Linked DNA regions of Homo sapiens: regions 2, 3, 4 and 5 are each linked to region 1. The links are contacts of gene promoters, found by promoter capture Hi-C in blood cells and fetal thymus (Javierre and others, 2016). All regions are on one chromosome and are shown on one strand. The core of a region is centred on a gene start or on the middle of the fragment in contact, and the rest is flanking DNA. Distances in the headings are between cores, read along the strand shown. Region 1 holds the start of DCAF16 (DDB1 and CUL4 associated factor 16). Region 2 holds the start of DHX15 (DEAH-box helicase 15). Region 3 overlaps DHX15 (DEAH-box helicase 15). Region 4 overlaps DHX15 (DEAH-box helicase 15). Region 5 has its middle 42 kb from the start of HS3ST1.

The links. Contacts are between HindIII fragments. The CHiCAGO score rates a contact against its expected background, and 5 or more counts as called.
Region 2: the fragment with the promoter of DHX15 here is called in contact with the fragment with the promoter of DCAF16 in region 1 in 1 of 17 cell types (fetal thymus); the score reaches 6.1 in fetal thymus.
Region 3: a fragment that was not itself captured here is called in contact with the fragment with the promoter of DCAF16 in region 1 in 1 of 17 cell types (non-activated CD4 T cells); the score reaches 5.9 in non-activated CD4 T cells.
Region 4: a fragment that was not itself captured here is called in contact with the fragment with the promoter of DCAF16 in region 1 in 1 of 17 cell types (fetal thymus); the score reaches 5.4 in fetal thymus.
Region 5: a contact is called between a fragment that was not itself captured here and the fragment with the promoter of DCAF16 in region 1, in 1 of 17 cell types (non-activated CD4 T cells). The highest score is 5.0, in non-activated CD4 T cells.

The regions. Positions count from the first base shown.
Region 1 is chr4:17,808,716-17,812,435 of GRCh38, forward strand. It overlaps DCAF16 (DDB1 and CUL4 associated factor 16), which reads right to left and starts at 2,042. Exons shown (of 3, transcript NM_017741.4): 1 at 1,732-2,042. It overlaps NCAPG (non-SMC condensin I complex subunit G), which reads left to right and starts at 2,264. Exons shown (of 21, transcript NM_022346.5): 1 at 2,264-2,473; 2 at 3,506-3,709. The coding sequence starts at 2,363. RefSeq lists enhancers at 1,580-1,669, 1,711-2,222, 1,790-1,949, 2,223-2,735. The HindIII fragment of the contact is 3,530 bases long and covers 1-3,300 here.
Region 2 is chr4:24,582,557-24,586,276 of GRCh38, forward strand. DHX15 (DEAH-box helicase 15) reads right to left here and starts at 1,998. Exons shown (of 14, transcript NM_001358.3): 1 at 1,767-1,998. The coding sequence starts at 1,837. RefSeq lists silencers at 1,257-1,306, 1,507-1,586, 1,597-1,716 and an enhancer at 1,897-2,436. The HindIII fragment of the contact is 7,218 bases long and covers 1-3,720 here.
Region 3 is chr4:24,550,566-24,554,285 of GRCh38, forward strand. The region is part of intron 5 of DHX15 (DEAH-box helicase 15); the gene reads right to left. Among named protein-coding and RNA genes, the nearest start is that of DHX15, 32 kb to the right of the region's middle. RefSeq lists an enhancer at 2,625-3,193. The HindIII fragment of the contact is 3,436 bases long and covers 1-3,351 here.
Region 4 is chr4:24,531,672-24,535,391 of GRCh38, forward strand. DHX15 (DEAH-box helicase 15) reads right to left here. Exons shown (of 14, transcript NM_001358.3): 12 at 1,193-1,383. Among named protein-coding and RNA genes, the nearest start is that of MIR573, 13 kb to the left of the region's middle. The HindIII fragment of the contact is 807 bases long and covers 1,217-2,023 here.
Region 5 is chr4:11,469,045-11,472,764 of GRCh38, forward strand. No RefSeq gene overlaps it. Among named protein-coding and RNA genes, the nearest start is that of HS3ST1, 42 kb to the left of the region's middle. RefSeq lists an enhancer at 1,138-1,327. The HindIII fragment of the contact is 2,389 bases long and covers 513-2,901 here.

The DNA.
Region 1 (3,720 bases), core at 792-3,291:
ACAGCCAAATAGAATATAGTAAAGAAATACTAGCCGGGCGCGGTGGCTCACGCCTGTAATCCCAACAGTTTGGGAGGCAAAGGCGGGTGGATCACCTGAGGTCAGGAGTTCGAGACCAGCCTGGCCAACATGGCGAAACCCCGTCTCTATTAAGAATACAAAAGATTAGCCAGGTGTGGTGGTGCATGCCTGTAACCCAGCTACTTGGGAGACTGAGGCGGGAGAATCGCTTCAACCCGGGAGGCAGAGGTTGCAGTGAGCCGAGATCGCGCCATTGCACTCCAGCCTGGGCGACAGAGCAAGACTCTGTCTCAAAATAAAAATAAAAAAATATATATTAGAAACGTCACAAAGCAAAATTATGGGCAACACAAATGTTACCACATTCTTAACTAGCAGCTGAATATCTACAAAGTTTGAGGAATTAAGCAGGAGAATGGATAAGGTATGGCATATTAATACAATGGAGTACTATAGCAACCTGTCTGTGCCGTAGTTTCCTCATCTTAAAAGAAGATCAAAGTTATCCTACAGGGTTTGTGAGCAGTAAACGAAGTAAAGTGCTTAGCATGGTGTCTGGCACATAATAAAGGTTAATTAAGTGCAAGTTACTATTATGAACATATCAATATGAACCACAGCAATATTGATTGAAAAAAGCCAGATGCACATATAATTATTCATTTAACGGTTAAAACATGCAAAATAGTACAATATCCTCATTCAGGGATTTATTCATGTCATTAATATATTAAAATATGTCATTAAGATATAGAAAGCTGCATGGTAAAAGTTAACAGTAAATTCAGAAAATCCATTACTTCTTCGGAGGGCAGGTAATTCAAAAGGAGAAAGATGTACAGGTGGCTTTAGTAATGTTCTATTTCTTCAGCTGGCAGTAGGTTACTGAGGTGTAGGAGAGGGAAAAACGGCTTCCCTCCATCCTCCTAGGTTCTTTGGCTGGGTTACAAATTAACCTGACATAGACATTAACAAGAAAAAAAACCCGTACTTAATTACATACGCAGAGGAGTCCCACCATGGTCAGATGATTGAATATTATACAGCATCCTACGCTACTCAAGAAATGGGGGCTTGCGGCTTTCTGGGGGATGGTGGCCACAAAGTTGTGGAAAGGTGAGGGGAGGAAATATACGGTGAATAAAAGTTGTCTTGGTATGCAGATAAGATCTCCCAGGTAACAAAAATTATCGCAGAGCTGCCCTCTTTCTGATACAGATCCTTTACTGATGTATATTTCCTCTGTAGATGTCAATTTCTTTTACAACAGGACAGATTTTCAGAGCGACTCCTGTGTCTGCATTTTATCAGAATACCAGCTCAAAATATACTCTAGAAGTATATTGTAGGGTGGCATATTTTGGTCTCCTACAGTCCTATTTTTGGATGGTGCATCCTGAGATCCAACAGAAGTTCTGTCTGATATAATTTCATTTAAAATTTAAAAACCTAGTTCCTACTCTTCTTTATTTTAACCACTACCCGAAAGACCTTTCCATTCTCTTGAGTTCTCCCTTAATACACTGTCCTTATGCACACTTGTAAACAGGGCCTACACAGCTGCACATCTAGAAACGGCAGCAGCTAAGTTAGCCCGCACCCCCCTTCGCAACGATCCCCGGACTGCCTGCACGCCCTGTGGAACCTCGCAGTCGGCTTCACCAGGGCAGGGACTAAGGCCTTCAAAAGACAGCATCCGTCTCCACTAACCTCGGGTCGCCCCGCTCAGCGGACCCAGCAGCGTCGTCTCCCTTCTCAGAGGTGGCCGGGCCTCCGGAACGCGCTACGAACTTTCCTTTGTCGCCGTCTCTCGAAGCGGAGCCCTCGTGTGGGGATCCCCCGCCCTTCGGCCACAAGGGAGGTTGTTATCCTCGGCAGATCTCCCGTTCTCACTCTTGGAGGATCGCTTTTTCTTTCTAGCCTCACGCTCAGCCGCACGACCCAGCCAGGCCTAACGCCAGCAGCCCTTCCCCTCCGGTGGCAAGGCCACTCCGCTCAGCTCCCGCGCCGACGCTACTTCCGGCCGAGTCAAGGCCCCTCCCCCTTAGAAACGCCACTTCCCTCCGTGAAAACGGCTGGACAAGGTTGAACCTAGACGCATGCGCCCAAAGCGCGGGGTGCGAGGTGGGTGGACCCATCGCTTCCCGCTCTCTTCTCCCAAAGCGCTTACGGCAGTCTCGCGGGATTTCCCCCTCTCGCGGGAATTATTTGAACGTTCGAGCGGTAAATACTCCCTGGGGCTGTCATAGAAGACTACTCGGAGAGCGCTGCCTCTGGGTTGGCGGGCTGGCAGGCTGTAGCCGAGCGCGGGCAGGACTCGTCCCGGCAGGGTTCCAGAGCCATGGGAGCGGAAAGGAGGCTGCTGTCGATTAAGGAGGCCTTTCGGCTGGCGCAGCAGCCGCACCAGAACCAGGCGAAGCTGGTGGTGGCGCTGAGCCGCACCTACCGCACGGTAAGCGCTCCCGGCCCCGGCCGCCGCCTCTCGCCCGCCCCGGCCCACCCTCCCTCAGGGGCCCTCCGTGGCCCTCGGGCTCGGCGCACCGTGACTCCAGCCTTGTTCACCTTCGCGACTCACTTCATAGGGATCTGAGGTTCGGAGAAGTCAGGGACTTACCCGAGGTCGCCTGGGCCCAGGCCAGAAAGCCTCCGAAGCCTGGGCGTCGTTCACACGGGCCCCGCCTTGGCTTTTCTGAGCCGACACCCCCAGCTTCTGGGCGGCGTGGACCGTTATTCCTTAGTCCGATCGTGAACGTGGAGAGAAACATTTACGACCACCGAGGCGATCAGACATCAAATATTGAACCGCAGAGTGGATCCTGAATGCGGGGGTTCAGTGGTCGTTGCCCCTGGGGTCATCGCTCCCCGCCGAACATCAAATGATTCTACCCTTGTCCTACGGTTACGTTGAATCCAATCACCAAATACCAAATTATTTTTAGGGCCTGGCCATTCTTATTTATGTACATACTATTTGTTTGTTTTGAGTGGAACCTTGAGAAGAATAGAACAATTAATTTGGGGAAGATGAATTATCTTGAGGTCCAAGAAAAATTGTGAGTAAACATCACAGGGCTTTGAGGATATGAGATAGGATGTGCAAGTTATCTCATAAAGAAACTGCTGGTGATAGGAAGGCCTGAATATGAGAAATATAAAAGCCAGTATTGATTTTGGGTTGTTGAAGAAGCGTATTTGTAACGTACTGGTACTAAAGGCTTATTGAGAATCAAAGATATTGAAAAAAATATATCAAAGGAATCTTTTCACTGTCAAAAGTCAAGCTTGTGTACTCCCATTATAGCCTGGAGAGAAATTCATGCAAATTGATTGCCCTTTGGCTGGTTTGGATAATTAAGAGTTTACTAAATAAATATTTTAATTTGTCTGCATTATTATGGCTAGTGCTTTCATCAGTCTTAGGGTGATGTTGGGAATAAAGGATTTTTATCGGTGCAGTTTATGAAGGGTTTCTTTTGTCTTTCAGATGGATGATAAGACAGTTTTTCATGAGGAGTTCATTCATTACCTTAAATATGTTATGGTGGTCTATAAACGTGAACCAGCTGTGGAGAGGGTAATAGAATTTGCAGCAAAGTTTGTTACCTCATTTCACCAATCAGATATGGAAGATGATGAGGAAGAGGAAGATGGTGGCCTTTTAAATTATTTGTTTACTTTTCTCTTAAAGGTACTATGAAA
Region 2 (3,720 bases), core at 748-3,247, 6.8 Mb after region 1:
TTGCCTTAGAGAAATCAAGAACTAAGTGTTCCCTACTTTACCAACGCATTATAAATGTCATTAAAATAGGCTGTAATGACTCTTAACTACAGTACTGAACTGTGTGCTGCTGAGTGAAAATGACAAAGGCAGGGTTCCAGATCCTGCTGTAAACTTGCACAAGCCACCTTAACTCTGTTCTCCACTTCTCATTCCTTGATTGGAGCCGCGTATAGTCTTTTTTAAGTTGCTTCCAGCTCTGAGTCTGTGACATACAGCTCAGAGGTATTAACGTTTTGTGGGGCGTAATGGTGGGGGAGGGTGATAGCCTAAAGAGAGTCTGTCTTACAATGTCATTGTCTTTTTTACAATGCCTAATATCGTAAACTAAATAACTCACAAAATTAAAATGTGACATGCTTTTGCTTTCTATTGAATAATTCAACATATGGCAAAGCCTCAAAAAGTACACCCTATCCTGGCTTATACTCTACAATGACACTAAACATATCCCTGGAAATCAATTTCAATGAAGAACTTTAGCTGAAAAATTCAAAACAGCTATACAGGTGACTTGACACAGTGATTCTGTATCACAAGTACACAATAAAATGATACAATTATGCAAAGTATTTGGCTACTCGGGCTTTTGTGGGTTTTGCCTGAATTATCCAAACAGGTCTTTGTACTTCATCAATGAAAACACACAAGGGACAAGAAATGATTTTCACGAAATTGCTTAAATTAACTGCTAAATTCCTCTGTACCTTTAAGGAAAGGAATCTGGAACACCAAGAGTTTGTGTAAGTATTTCAACTCTCAACCTCCACATGGGCGGTGTTTCGCCATAAATACTAAAAACACGTTTTGAACATGATCCCTGTATTTCAAAAGCTACTTATGAAGAAAAGTGGGACATGCATAGAAAATAAATGATGAAAAAAAAAAACAATGCCTTCTAATCCCTCCCCATGGGACGATGTTCAGTAACCAGTTTTAACCAAAGCAGGAAATACAGGAGATGGCGGGAGCGTAGGCAGAGAGCGGAAGTTTGCTAGTATCTACTTTGAAGTGTTTGAATGGACCAAGGCACGCTCTCTCCCGCCAAACTATAAACTCAGTCGCCCCAAAACACCAGCCTTCCAGCCCATCAGGTATATTACTCCACGTTTTCCTTTCTCCCGGCAGGTCCTCTACTCCCACCTCCCCCGAGAACTCCCTATTTGCTGGCTTCTCTCAACTCCCGCCACCCCCATCCCAGCCTACATTATGATCCACGCGCTGCTCTCACTTTCCGCCCTCCGCCTTTCCCGTCTGGAGTGCCTGGCCGCGCCCCCACCCAGGCCCTCCCCACGGCCCCTCTGGCTGGGAAGTGCCTGCTGCCCTTGGAAGCGAATACTCCCACCGCGCCCTCCCCCACCCTCTCCTCCGGCTCCAGGCCTTCCTCGGGAACCGAGGCCACGAGGTCCGCGGTTCACTCCCGCCCGACGCCCTCGCAAATGACTCCCGCTCGGTTCGGCCTGGGGGAGGAGGCGCCCTCATGGCTACTGCAGGCCTCTCCACCCTCCGGACTGGGCTGGGCAGCGGCCCCGTCGCACGCAACCCCCCGCGCCCTTGCCGGGCCGAACGGGCGCCGCGCTTCTCCTACCCGCCGCTAGTGAACCCAGCCCAGAGAGAAACAAAGGCTCGGGCTCCAGGACCCGCTCGGCCAGGCCAGCCCCGGCCCGCTCCCTGCCAGGACCCCAACAAAGCCCGAGCTGCCGCCTCGCGCCCCCGGCCTGGCTTACCCATCGGTCCCCGCACGCTTCTTGCCAGAGGGGTAATCCTCCCCTAGGTCCAACCGGTGCCGCTTGGACATCCTCGCACTCTTCGAACGGGCAGTTATTAAGGAAGAAAGCTGGCTGCTGTATGGGCACAGTCGAGGACAGCCACTTAACTCTGGAGGACCCCCACCCCTCCCGCTACTACAGCCCACACGGTGCGGCCGGAACCAACAGCTAAAATGGCGGCGGCGACGAGGGCTGGGCCTGCGCGCGCGCGCGCTTCCGCAGCGTGCGTGCGTGCGAGTGTGCGTGTGAGCGAGGTGCGCGCGCACGACGCCCAAAGGCGGGAACTCCTGTCCCGCCCGCTGCCTCATTGGTCCGACCTTTCTTGGGTCTCCTCCCTCTTCCTGTAGCTTTCCCCTCCTCGGAGCGGCTGTTAGGAAGAACCTGAAGGCCTTCACTTTCCATTTCAGGCTATCCTTGCCCCTCTGAGTCAAGAAATTGAGAAAGTCTAGTCCTAGTTAGGAAATCCTATTCATTTCTATTACCCCGGCTTTAAGGGAATCTCAGACCCAGAGAGGTTGAGAAACGAATGAAGATCGTACAGCTAATAAGTGGCAGAGCCGGGATTGGAACCCAGCTATTTAGTAACTCCAGATCTGGAACTTGCGGCCACTGCGCTACCCTCAGTTGCAGTGAGGGGCCGCGCGATGGTTCACGCCTGTAATCCCAACGCTTTGGGAGACCGAGGCGGGTGGATCACGAGGTCAGGAGTTCGAGACCAGCCTGGCCAACACGGTGAAACCCCGTCTCTACTAAAAATACAAAAATTAGCTGGGCGTGGTGGCGTACGCCTGTAATCCCAGCTACTCGGTAGGCTGAGGCAGGAGAATCGCTTGAACCTGGGAGGCGGAGGTTGCGGTGAGACGAGATCACACCAGTGCACTCCAGCCTGGACGACAGAACAAGACTCCGACTTGAAAGAAAAAAAAAAATCAATTGCAGTGAGGAAACTGAAGTGAGAAAATGTTAAGGCTTGTCATGATCTATTTTGCCCTTTTCTTGCCCAGCACGGACACCATGCACCCAAGCTATAGATGTTTTTAACTAGAATACAGAGAATTCGCAGTGAGGGCACAATTTGCTTTTTTGTTTTTTGTTTTTCTGTGCCTATTAATGCACTTTCGCAGTGTTAAATAACACCCTGCAAGGTAGTTGTTATTTTGTAGACGTAGACGCAAAGGCTGAGGAAGGTTACATCTCCTAGCCATAAGGGCTGTACCTAAAGCCATAACAAGGAGGTGGGGCAAGATGACTCTAAGGATTTTTGTGGATCTCTCCCCCTAGAATATGTCTGCTTCCTCAGTTGCATTTGTTCCCAGAAGAAATGCACAAGAAAAGATCTGTGGACCATCTGCAGCAGGGTGATCTCTGTTGTTCATGGAATGGCTTGGTTTGGCTGCCCTGGAAGACCATACTCTGGTTCTTATCCAAATCTCAGGACTGCAATTGCTAGGATTAAATGCAACTTAAATATTGCAACTGATGAGGGGTTTGTGTGTTTGTTTTGAGACAGTCTTGCTCTGTCGCCCAGGCTGGAGGACAGTGGTGCAATCTCAGCTCACTGCAACCTCCGCCTCCCGGGTTTAAGCCATTCTCCTGCCTCAGCCTCCCTCCTAGCTGGGATTATAAGCGCCCGCCACCACGCCCGGCTACGCGCCCGGCTAATTTTGGTATTTTTAGTAGAGACGTAGAGACGAGGTGTCGCCATGCTGGCCAGGCTGGTCTTGAACTCCGGACCTCAAGTGATCTGCCCACCTCGGCCTCCCAAAGTGCTGGGATTACAGGCGTGAGCCACTGCACCCAGCCAGCAATTGGTAAGGAGGGTTTTTATTTTTTTGTACCAAATCCACATTGGAAAGTCAACACAAAGAAAAATGAGTATATTTTTCACTTGTGAAATATTCAGTACAACTTT
Region 3 (3,720 bases), core at 384-2,883, 6.7 Mb after region 1:
CCCCACAGGGTCAGGATCATCAATATCACTATCTTCCACCTTAACGTATTAACCCACTGGAAGGTCTCCAAAGGCCAGTAACACACATGGAGCTGTCATCTCCTGTGATAACAATGCCTTCTCCTAGAACACCTCCTGAAGGACCTGCCTAAGCCTGTTTTACAGTTAACATTTTTAAGTCGAAGGAGAACACTCTAAAATAATGATAAAACATGTAGTATAGTAAATACAAAAACCACTAACAATGTCCTATTATCATTATTATTATGTACTGGACATAATTGTACATACTATATAGTACTTTTAAAACAACTGGCAGCAAAGTAGGTTTGTTTGAACTAGCATCATCACAAAGCAGTGAGTAATGTGTTGTGCTGTGATGCTGCAAGGTTACGTTCAGCTCCACTATAATCTTACGGGAGCAGCACCACAGCTATCTGAGAAGTTTGTCTTGACCAAAACGTTGTTATGTGGCACATGACTATATTCTAACACATGTGCATTCAAGAGGAGACATAATGAATATCAAGACGGAAAAAAAGAGAGAGACAGATTATGTATGATAGCTCTGGGAGAGGCAAAGGAACTTAAAAATGGAAGGCAGCACTGCGGACAAATGTATTCTAAATTTTATTGAAGTATTAATTCAATTAAACCCAGAAGTATGTAAAACGCTTATTATACACTAGGCAGCCTGTCCAATAAATGACCCAATCAGAAGCTACCCTTGTCAACAAAGTGCGTGTTTTTTTCAAAGGACAATGATACTAAACGGTGAGGAAGAATTTTAGGACATTTACTTTATATTTTTTTAATGTCCAACTGTGTCTCTATATCAAAAAACACAACGTTCTTAAACACAGTAAGAACAAATAAATTACTTTTCACTTATTTCAAACACATCAGTTTTTTTTAAAGGTTATCTGTCTCAAAAATTGTGACACAGAAAACTATTAAAGATTCAATGTTACTAGATCCTCCTTTGAAATCTCAAGTTTCTAAAAGAAAATGAAAGTAGATGCTATTCATCTAAATAAAAAATATAACAAAGCGAACAAATATTTTTTGAAAATACTGCTTTCAAATGTTGTATCTAGATTAGAATGCCCCCTGCTGGCATGCAAATAAAAAATTAAGAGCTCTCCAACTTAAAAAACATTTGAACATAATATAAAACTAGGATTCCAACATTTAAGAGTATCTGCAATTTTGTTAATTTTACTGTACATAAATGAAAAATAAATGCTCAGAAATCACAAAATATCCAGATTTCACACATTAAAAATTAAGTGCTTAAATTAGACATTTGCTTTGTGATTCCAGTATTTTAAAATGACAATTCCAACTTTACTGGAGATTAGACTACCCAATCTGCTAAGTATGCAAGGAGCTAAAACAAAATGATGACTATGTAGGATATAAAGGCATCTCTAAAATGTGGAAGAAATCCCGTAACACTTAAGTTTTTAGATAAAGTCCTAAACAGCTTTAAAACTTGCAATAAAAATTTTCCCTGAGGTTTGCCAAACTTCCAAGAAGTCAACACTATCAGCTGAGAATGCCACAAAACTTATCTGCATTCATCAGAATATAAACAGAAACAGGTAGTGGAGGAAAAGAAGTTTCAACAGCAGCCATCTGCTTAGTCATTAGCAATACTGAGAATAAAGACAGACAGTTCAGGAGTTTTTGATTTGAGAAAAGATTTTTAACTCCAAAAGCAGCAATATGTTAGTAAATTAATCTGGACCTTACCAATTAACTCACTGCATGTTGAAAAAAAAATTTACTAAGCAAAATTAAAAATAAAATTATTTAATTACAATCACTCTTATCTAATTACTATCTAGGCAACACTTTAAACTGTTCTCTCTCCCTCCCAAATTAACTCATGTGACTACAGAAGCACTTTTATTTAGTGGTCAGAATATGTTCTTAAAAACCAGTTTTAAATTTTTATGAGATTACTCAATTTCATGGAGGCTATTCAAATTTATGAAGAAAGGAGTACTGATTTCGCAGTTGCATTTAACTTACCAAGTAAAAATAATGAAGGTTCACAAAAATGAGAAGGTAATATTTACTTTAGACCAGCTCTACTACTAAATACAACAAATGAAATGTAAACAAAACGTTAGGTTTTCTGCTACCTTCTCCCCAAAACTCTTCAAATTCAAGACTGGGAATCTAAAGATAACTTAAAGAAGCAATGGTATGCAAAAAAACAGCTGACAACTAGAGCAGCATTTTATTTCATGAAAGACACTCTAGCATACATCTGAAAACCCTTCGGCTTACTCCCTTCCTTTCCCCAGCTGTGGGATTCACAGAAAATACCGCACAAAGTTGTCTCAGAGAAAAACCTTTCGGGTCCTTAACCATGAGGCCATTTGATATTTCTGATAGAATCTCAATACGCTTATGTTATCTGAGAATGATGACAATTTTAAATAGTGATTTAAAAAATAAAAATATGGCCAGGTGCAGTGGCTCACGCCTGTAATCCCAGCACTTTGGGAGGCCGAGGCGGGTGGATCACCTGAAGTTGGGAGTTCAAGACCAGCCTGACCAACACGGAGAAACCCCATCTCTACCAAAAATACCAATTAGTTGGGCATGGTGGCGCATGCCTGTAATCCCAGCTACTCGGAAGGCTGAGGCAGGAGAATCACCTGAACCTGGGAGGCAGAGGTTGCGGTGAGCCGAGATCGCGCCACTGCACTCCAGCCTGGGCAACAAGAGCAAAACTCCATCTCAAATAAATAAATAATAAAACAAAATAAATAAAAATAAAAATATACTATGCACTTTGGAGGAAATGAGAAACTAGAGACCAGACACAAGAGGACAAAACGATTATCCCAACAGCCTCAATACTACATTACAGCACAAATGCTGTTTATATGCCATCAAAAAAGCATTTTGGGGCCAGGTGTGGTGGCTCGCGCCTATAATCCCAGCACTTTGGGAACCCGAGAAGGGCAGATCACCTGAGGTCAGGAGTTCGAGACTAGCCTGGCCAACATAGTGAAACCCCGTCTCTACTAAAAATTAAAAAAAAATTAGCCAGGTGTGATGGTGGGCACCTGTGATCCCAGCTACTTGGGAGGCTGAGGCAAGAGAATCGCTTGAACCCGGGAGGCAGAGGTTGCAGTGAGCCGATAATCATGCCACTGCGCTCCAGCCTGGTTGACAGAGCGCGACTCTGTCTTCCCTCCCCACCCCCAAAAAGAAAAAGAAAAACCCTTTCGTAAAAGGCTTTTTAAAACTTTGTATTATCCAAATAGCTTCTGAATTTATTTAGCCACTCAGGTATTCCACAGCACACCTATAAACACCCTATTGAAAAGAAGCTTAGAAACGCTACATCTGGCCGGGTGCGATGGCTCACGCCTGTAATCCCAGCACTTTGGGAGGCCGAGGAGAGTGGATCACGAGGTCAGGAGATTGAGACCATCCTGGCTAAAACGGTGAAACCCTGTCTCTACTAAAAATACAAAAAATTAGCCGGGTGTGGTGGCGGGCACCTGTAGTCCCAGCTACTTGGGAGGCTGAGGCAGGAGAATGGCGTGAACCCAGAAGGCGGAGCTTGCGGTGAGCCAAGACTGCACCACTGCACTACAGCCTGGGCGACAGCGCAAGACTCCGTCTCGAAAAAAAAAAGAAATGCTACATCTGAGAATAAAATTTTAAATGAAGTAAATTCTAACTAAGAACTTT
Region 4 (3,720 bases), core at 370-2,869, 6.7 Mb after region 1:
TTGCACCACTGCACTCCAGCCTGGGAGTGAGACATTGCCTCCCTCACCCCATCCCCTCCCCCTAAAAAAGAACAGAACATGTCAAAGAGAAGCCAGTACAACATATCAAATATTAAGAATATAGTTAAGAGTTTCAAGAAAGAATGCTCATACCTATCATTCACCAAACTCTAATAAGCCTATTATATAATAAGATGCCACAATAAACACTGTGTTACTTAGATTCAAATACAGACATCTCACCAATCTCCTTTGATTTTTGATTCTGAAACTGAGTGTCCTCAGGCTCATATTCTAGCTACTGAGCCCATCTGGCCTTAAGGGTAAGCCACATCGTGCTTAAAAGACACAGCCAAAGAGAGAATGAACAAACAGAAAAGAGATAGAAGAGACTTATCCCAAATCAGGTGATTTGTTTTCAATTTTATCACCACAAAATTTTCTTGCATTTTTCTCAAAGTTTCTCTTATTTTATAAACACCTTAAAATAACTGTTCACAGTATTTACTTGACAAGTTTTACTTCTGTTCTTATAGCCGTTAACACAGCATACTTAAACTAAATAAAACCTTTTAAATTATGTTTCATCTTTATTGCTACTCAACAGACGTTTTTGGCTTTTGCAGTACGCAAGGGTCTTGGTCATAATTACCAATGATCACTCTGTAGAGGACTGTAAATGAAATCCACGTATTTGAATATTTGAATTTGGAGGTGCTTAGTTTTTAGATAAAGACTAAAGCCAACTGTATGTACTTTTGGATCCGCTCAATTGCTTCCTTTTAGTACTCTGTTATGACAATGTATTTCCAATTAAGCCCTAGATTCAGAGAAACTTTAATGCACTGATCAATATTCACATTCCTGAAGAAACAGGTGCCTAATCACATCTGAAAGTAGCCAAAGTTTCCATTTTGTATAACAAAGGCTCTATTAATAAAATAATTCTAAAAACGATTCCTGTATAACTAGACTACCTTAGCCATTTAGTACATTAATTTGTTACTCATTAAATACTTAAAATTTCTTAGTATATTAATTCACTCAAAGAAACTGGATGTACCAACATTTAAGATAAATTTTTATGAGCATGCACAAACTCACTTTTGCTTTTGAGTGGATTCAAAGGACTGTTAATAGAAATCAGTGTCATATGAATACTTAGTTATTCATTCCCATATTATCTACATACCTGCATAAAATACCCAGTAACCAAAGCTTTTCTTATATTAATATAATAGTCCCTGCTTGTAAAGTCAGTACTTCGACGAGGCAAATTAAATCTGTCCATAATTCGAGATAGCTGCTGGCGTACATTGTCTGCGGACATCAGGGACCTGTAGTTAATGAAGTTGTCATAACACCACTGAACCGATTCATGATCTAAAAAGGTAGAAGGCGGGGAGAAAAGAAGGCACCATGAATCACCCACACAGGAATGTTCTCTAATTAAAAAAATTGTTATAAAGAATAAGCTAAATAAACCAGAAAGGAGATTTACCCACAACATTTTCTTTAAATGAACTGCAATGTTACCAACTTTCTCAAAGATCTGTAGTGTGATTCAACATTAGAAACAGTAACAAGGCTTTTGGATTTGGATGCCAAAACAATGCTTTTGAATTAACTGTTTTTAGTGAATTACTTCTCCCATTAACATCCACCTGGTTGTTTCCAAAAGATGGTCTATCAGATAAGGGAAGGCTGGAAGTATTTGGTAAAAGTCATGGCCTGTTCATTTTCAATGAAACTACAGCTTTAGATTAAGATAACTGCAAACAATTGTTGTGTATTGTTCTTTATGCCTGACACAGAGCACCTCAGACTTAAAGACGGCAAAGTTTTATTGCGACACACGTGTCTCTCAGCAATTTATGAGCAAGTCCTGAAACAGAAGAAAGTTTACAAGGATGCCCGAAACCTCCACTCATGTTTAATAAACAAGACCTAAGTCTAAGCACTTCAAGTAATTTTATTACATGTATTATCAAAAGGATATTTCTCCACTGATGAATCCTTGATAAGCTTCCAACTAGCCTAGTGTTGCTCACTTAAAGAGCTCAACCTGTAGCATCATGAAAGAAATTTTACAGTGACATCTTTCATGTGCCAAAGACAGTCATGGCAAAGAATTGCATTATTTATTTCAGAGGACCTTTGATAAATAAAACTAACAGGGTTATTGTGAAATGGGAGAGAGAAAACAAAAATTAAAACTGTTGATCCTTCTCTTGCTACTGTGATGTATGCTTATCTTCAGCATACTCTTTTCTCTTTGGTTCTAGGATTCTACCAGTTATAGTGTATAACTCTGCCTTAATGTTTTTTAGACATAACAAATATATAAGTACATTTTTATCCATTACAAAATGCATCCCCATTTCAGAAATTAAGGATGGGTGAGGTGGAGATAGGAAATAGATTTTTGAATTAAAGAATACAATAACATATTAGAACACCCATTAATTAATCCATCTGGAATGAGAAATAAAAGTTAACCATCTGAAGCCATTGACATTTAAATCAAAGCACTGAATATCTTTGGGAGCTGAAACAGCACACCTTAGAGGTAATTTTACTTATGCTGATGCTCTGTAACAAGCTGAAAGGCAGAAAAATGCCCAAGCTGGACAATAAAAAGGCAAATTTTTGAAAAGGTTGTTGATTTGCAGACTATGGCTTGAAATGTAGCTTTTTTGTGTGGTTCTCAATTTTTAGAATTCATGTACTACAGATGGAAAAATTGCAAATCTAAGTTATTTGTTAAGAACAAATGACTAGTAACTAACATCTGATGGTTCTACTGTATTTCTAAACTTGTGAGAAATAATTGGGTAAATGGGAAAATTAAATCTAAAACTGGAAACATTAATATAATTCTAGCTGTTTATCTCTCACCAATACAGTAAACCACCCCTAAGATCTAAAGCCAAACCATTTGTCTGATTTTTAGAGAGAAATCTCCCCTCCCTAGACAGATCAAGGTACTGCAAAATAACTTGAATCTAGTTTTCGATTTCAAAGGGTTATTTACATAAATAGTATTAAGACAACATTTTAATTGACATGACATTTTAGCTTCACTATGTAATCAACTATTGTCTCTAATGCAAAACATCTTGACCAGTATCTGAAACACGCTTTTTTCAAATATACTCAATGTTTCAATTAATAACATACAACCATTTAAAAAGCTTTCGTGAAAATATTCCAAATATTTTCATATCCATATATATATGGATATATCGAAATAATAACACGTGGGGATCTGGCAAAGTTTTTTGCTTTTTTTTTTTTTAAGAGCTTCTCTTATTTGAAAAGGTGGCAATCAGTGATTAAAGGCTAAATCCTCACCTTTAACTAATAAGGACAGCTCTACCAAATGTCAAGTCATCACATACTGCAAACCCCTAAAAACCACCAATGGCTAATCATCCCTTTGGCAGTGAGAGATCATAGTACCTCTCACTAATAATGCATTTCTTGGGCAAACAATAGACTTGAACTTTTCCACCTCTTGTTTACAGGCCACTTGTAGCCTAAGAACCATCATTCATACTTGTCCGTTTTTCTATTTTATTAGTTGTATTTTGATGTAGAAAGTAGTATTTTGATGTATTTATCAGAAATAGGTCATACATCTAGTGAGTGGATAACACCATTTTAACTTACTACATCCCCTCTGACTGAATCTGTTCCTTCTCAAGGCTTTAATAGGTT
Region 5 (3,720 bases), core at 457-2,956, 6.3 Mb before region 1:
CAGTGTCAGAAGTTCAGGCAGCAACAGGTGCATGAGGAAGGAGTGGGGACATTCCAGAAATGCAGCTGTCAGGAATTTTTTAAATTGTTTTCCTTTCCTCTTGGGCCAATCATTGGGTATTTACATTCACTGTGGTCACCTGAGCCAGGTACCGCAATTGCATGTCCTGGAGTAGAAACTGATGTGATACCCAAGACTAACACTTAGTTCCTTCTTTGCCTTTAAGTACTAAGTGGATCTGTGATTTTAGGCAAGTGATTGTCCCTTTCTGGGCCTGTGGTTTTTTTGTTTGTTTTACTTTTTTGTTTTTTAATTATCATGACCAAAAGTCTTTTATTATTAACAACAATTGCACACTTTTTGTTGGGAAAAAAGGTATACAAATTATAAAACAGTTAACAATGTTTCCTTAAGGAGAGAAGTGTTAATGCTCTTCTCTAATTATGCTTTTAATGGTATTTTGTTCTATTTTTTTATTTTCAATAGCTTCTTTATTTCCCTTGGGATATTGAAGCTTTACTTAATCTTATTCTTTCTAAGTAGGGTAGAGAATTCCTGTTTCAAGTCTCCACAAAACAAAATCCCTTTTCTTGACATAGTAGAAAGGACAGGTGCTTGGATGTTTGGTTGGCAGGGGAAAGGAAAGAGTCCAGGTGCTACTGATAGAAATATTCAACCAAATCCTCCAGTTTTCGACTCCACCACTCACTGTGGTGCCTTCCTCAAGACCTTGGAGCTCCAAGTCTCTGAAGAATATTTCAGGCAATGAGAGGAGTCCCTGACTAAGGTAAAACCCTCCTCTCTGTCTCTTTCTGTGTGCGTGTATATGTATGTATATGTATATGTATATGTATATGTATATACATATACATATTCTATTGCTGCTTCCTCCTTAAACTCCACTAGAATAACAATGAAAGGTATTTAACATATTAATCCACCAATGTGAATAGTTGAGAGATGCCAACAATTTGAAAGATGGAAAAGAGGTCTGCAAATGCTCATTGTCGTAGCACAGCTGAGAAAGCTCACTGAGGCGCTGAGAGTGAGATGCGAAGGGACGGCCAGTGCAACACGGGCCTGTGTGTTTTTATGGACAGTATGAAGGTATTGAAACTGATCAGTAGTCTTCAAACATTTTCTTTCTTTCTTTTTTTTTTTTTCTTTTAGCAGGGAGATCTATTTCTCAAGTGAAAGGTAACTGAAACTGTCATGCATGAAACAAGCCCAAGCAAGCAGCTGCAGTTGCATGGTCAGCTGAGCCAAGGGCAGAGAGATGAGCCAGATGGGCTTCCCGCCCCTGGAGGGAGCCCCCATCCCCAGAGGGCAGACTCTGACACTCCTTCCCAGGTTCTTGGGGCATCACCAAAAAGAGTGGAAATCCCTACATGTTTTATCTCCAAGGGTCTCTAACCTTCTGTAACACTGCTCTGTGAATGCAATGAGACCATGTAAGAAAAGCACTGAGTAAAACCAAGAGCCTCATGTTTTGTTGCTATGCTGATTTTAATCTTTGAAGGTAAAGGGCCCTTGTATCTGACCTGCAAAGCACTTGGGCTGCTGGCTTTGCAAGGCATTGGCAAGAATAATACCTAAGGTACAGCTTCAAGAAGGTGGCTTTGTTTTCTCCTCTGAGAATAAGGGACTGAAAAAGTGATGAGTAACTCGGAAAAAAATAAAAGAGAACAAGAGAGAACAAAGTAGCTTTTCTTGATAAAGCATTTCCTCTAACCTGAAAGCTAGACACGGAAGCCAGGGAGTGCAGGAATTGCCCTGGCTGTGGCTAGTCACCATGCCGCCACCCCCAAATTCTTCTCACCACCAGATCAGCCAGGGAACGGCTTGCTGAAACCTGCTGGCTCTTTCTTGTGACCTGGAAGGATGACAGAGAGGCTGACATCCTGGAAGACCTCATTGCCCTGGGTTCCTTAGGAATCACAGAAGGGAACTCATTCACTCATTCATTCATTCAAGAATAGTATAGACTCTGCACAGTAGAGAAAACATGTATATCATTTTTCCAGATTCAACAGCTAGTGAATTTCCTGTATGCCAAGTCTTTAGAACTCAGGGATGAATGAAATTTCACAGGCTATTCTGTCTCTGAAAATCAAGTAAGGCAACACTCACATCCCCTCTGGGAAGCCAACCTTAGCCTCGTAGTCTGGATAAAATTTCACTATTATGTGCTACCTCAGCAGTTATGTACTGTAGCATCAGTCACATCCACTTCAGTGTAAGTTCTGGGAGGACAGGACATGTGTCTCTAGTAGCAGAAGAGATTGGCATGACAACAACCTCCAGTAGGTGTTCTACTAATTAAGTTTAGAAGAATTTAACTGTGGAGCCCGAGGCACGGGGATCACTTGAGGTCAGGAGTTCAAGACCAGCCTGGCCAACATGGTGAAACCCCATCTCTACCAAAAATACAAAAATTAGCCAGGCGGGTGGCACACACCTATAGTCCCAGCTATGTGGGAGGCTGAGGCAGGAGAATTGCTTGAATCCAGAAGGTGGAAGTTGCAGTGAGCCGAGATCGCGCCACTGCACTCCAGCCTGGGTGACAGAGTGAGACTCTATCTCAAAAAAAAAAAAAAAAAAAGAATTAACTATATTTAACTTTGCTTACCACACCACACTATGTACCCAATTACTTGTCTGTCTTCCCTCTCTACTCTCCCTATGGGCTGTGAGCCCCTACGAGCCCCTAAAGGCTGGAACCTTACCTCTTCCTGTCTGGCATCACATGCACTGTCTCATTCTATTGTGCGGAGACGTGAGCCAGGTCTGAATTCAAATCTATGACCCTGCCACTTCCTGTGGGGTGCATATCCTGTTTCAGTTTCCTCATATCTCAAAATGAAAATGAAAACACAATTTCCACACCTACAGCTACGAAAAAGCTTAGAAAGAATGCCAGTGATCTGCCTAGGACAATCCATAGCAAAGCATGGGCACACAGTAATTGCTAGCTATTAATAGAAACTTCAATTTGTTTAAACTCCTAAAGCTCATTGAATTGCTGGAAAAAAACAGCCTCTAGAGAACTTCTGTATATGCTTTTTTTCAGATTCGCCATGTTTTAACATTTTGCCACATTTGCTTTTTTATCCTCTATTTTTTCCTATTCTCTCTTTCAAATATTGTTAAATATAGTAATGCACACATACATACATACACAAACATGTATGTGTGTGAATTATGCATTCTAAAATTATTGTTTTCTATACCATTTGAAAGTAGATTAGCTACATCCTGTTCTTTTATTTTTTAATATTTCAATGTGTATTCTCTAAGAATATTCTTTTAAATAATTTAACCACAATGGTATTTCATTTAGGAAATTTAATGTTATAATATTTTCATCTAATCTACATTTTAATATGCCATATTTGTCATTGTCCCAATAATAATAATGTGCAAGTGCTCTTCCCTTCAAAACAGGATCTGGTCCATTTAGCAATTGTGTCTGTTGAATTCCCTTTAATTCAGAACTTTCTTCAGTCTTTCCCACTTTCACGACACTGACATTTTTAATGAACACAGGCCCCTTGTAGCATATTCTTTAATGTGGGTTTGTCTGATGCTTTTTTATGATCAGATTCAGGTTATGCATCCCAGCGGGGATACTCATAAGTGATGGCATTCCCTCTCCATGCACACATCCAGAGGCATGTGACATCCATCTGTTCCTTATTGCTAATGTTAATTTTGATCACA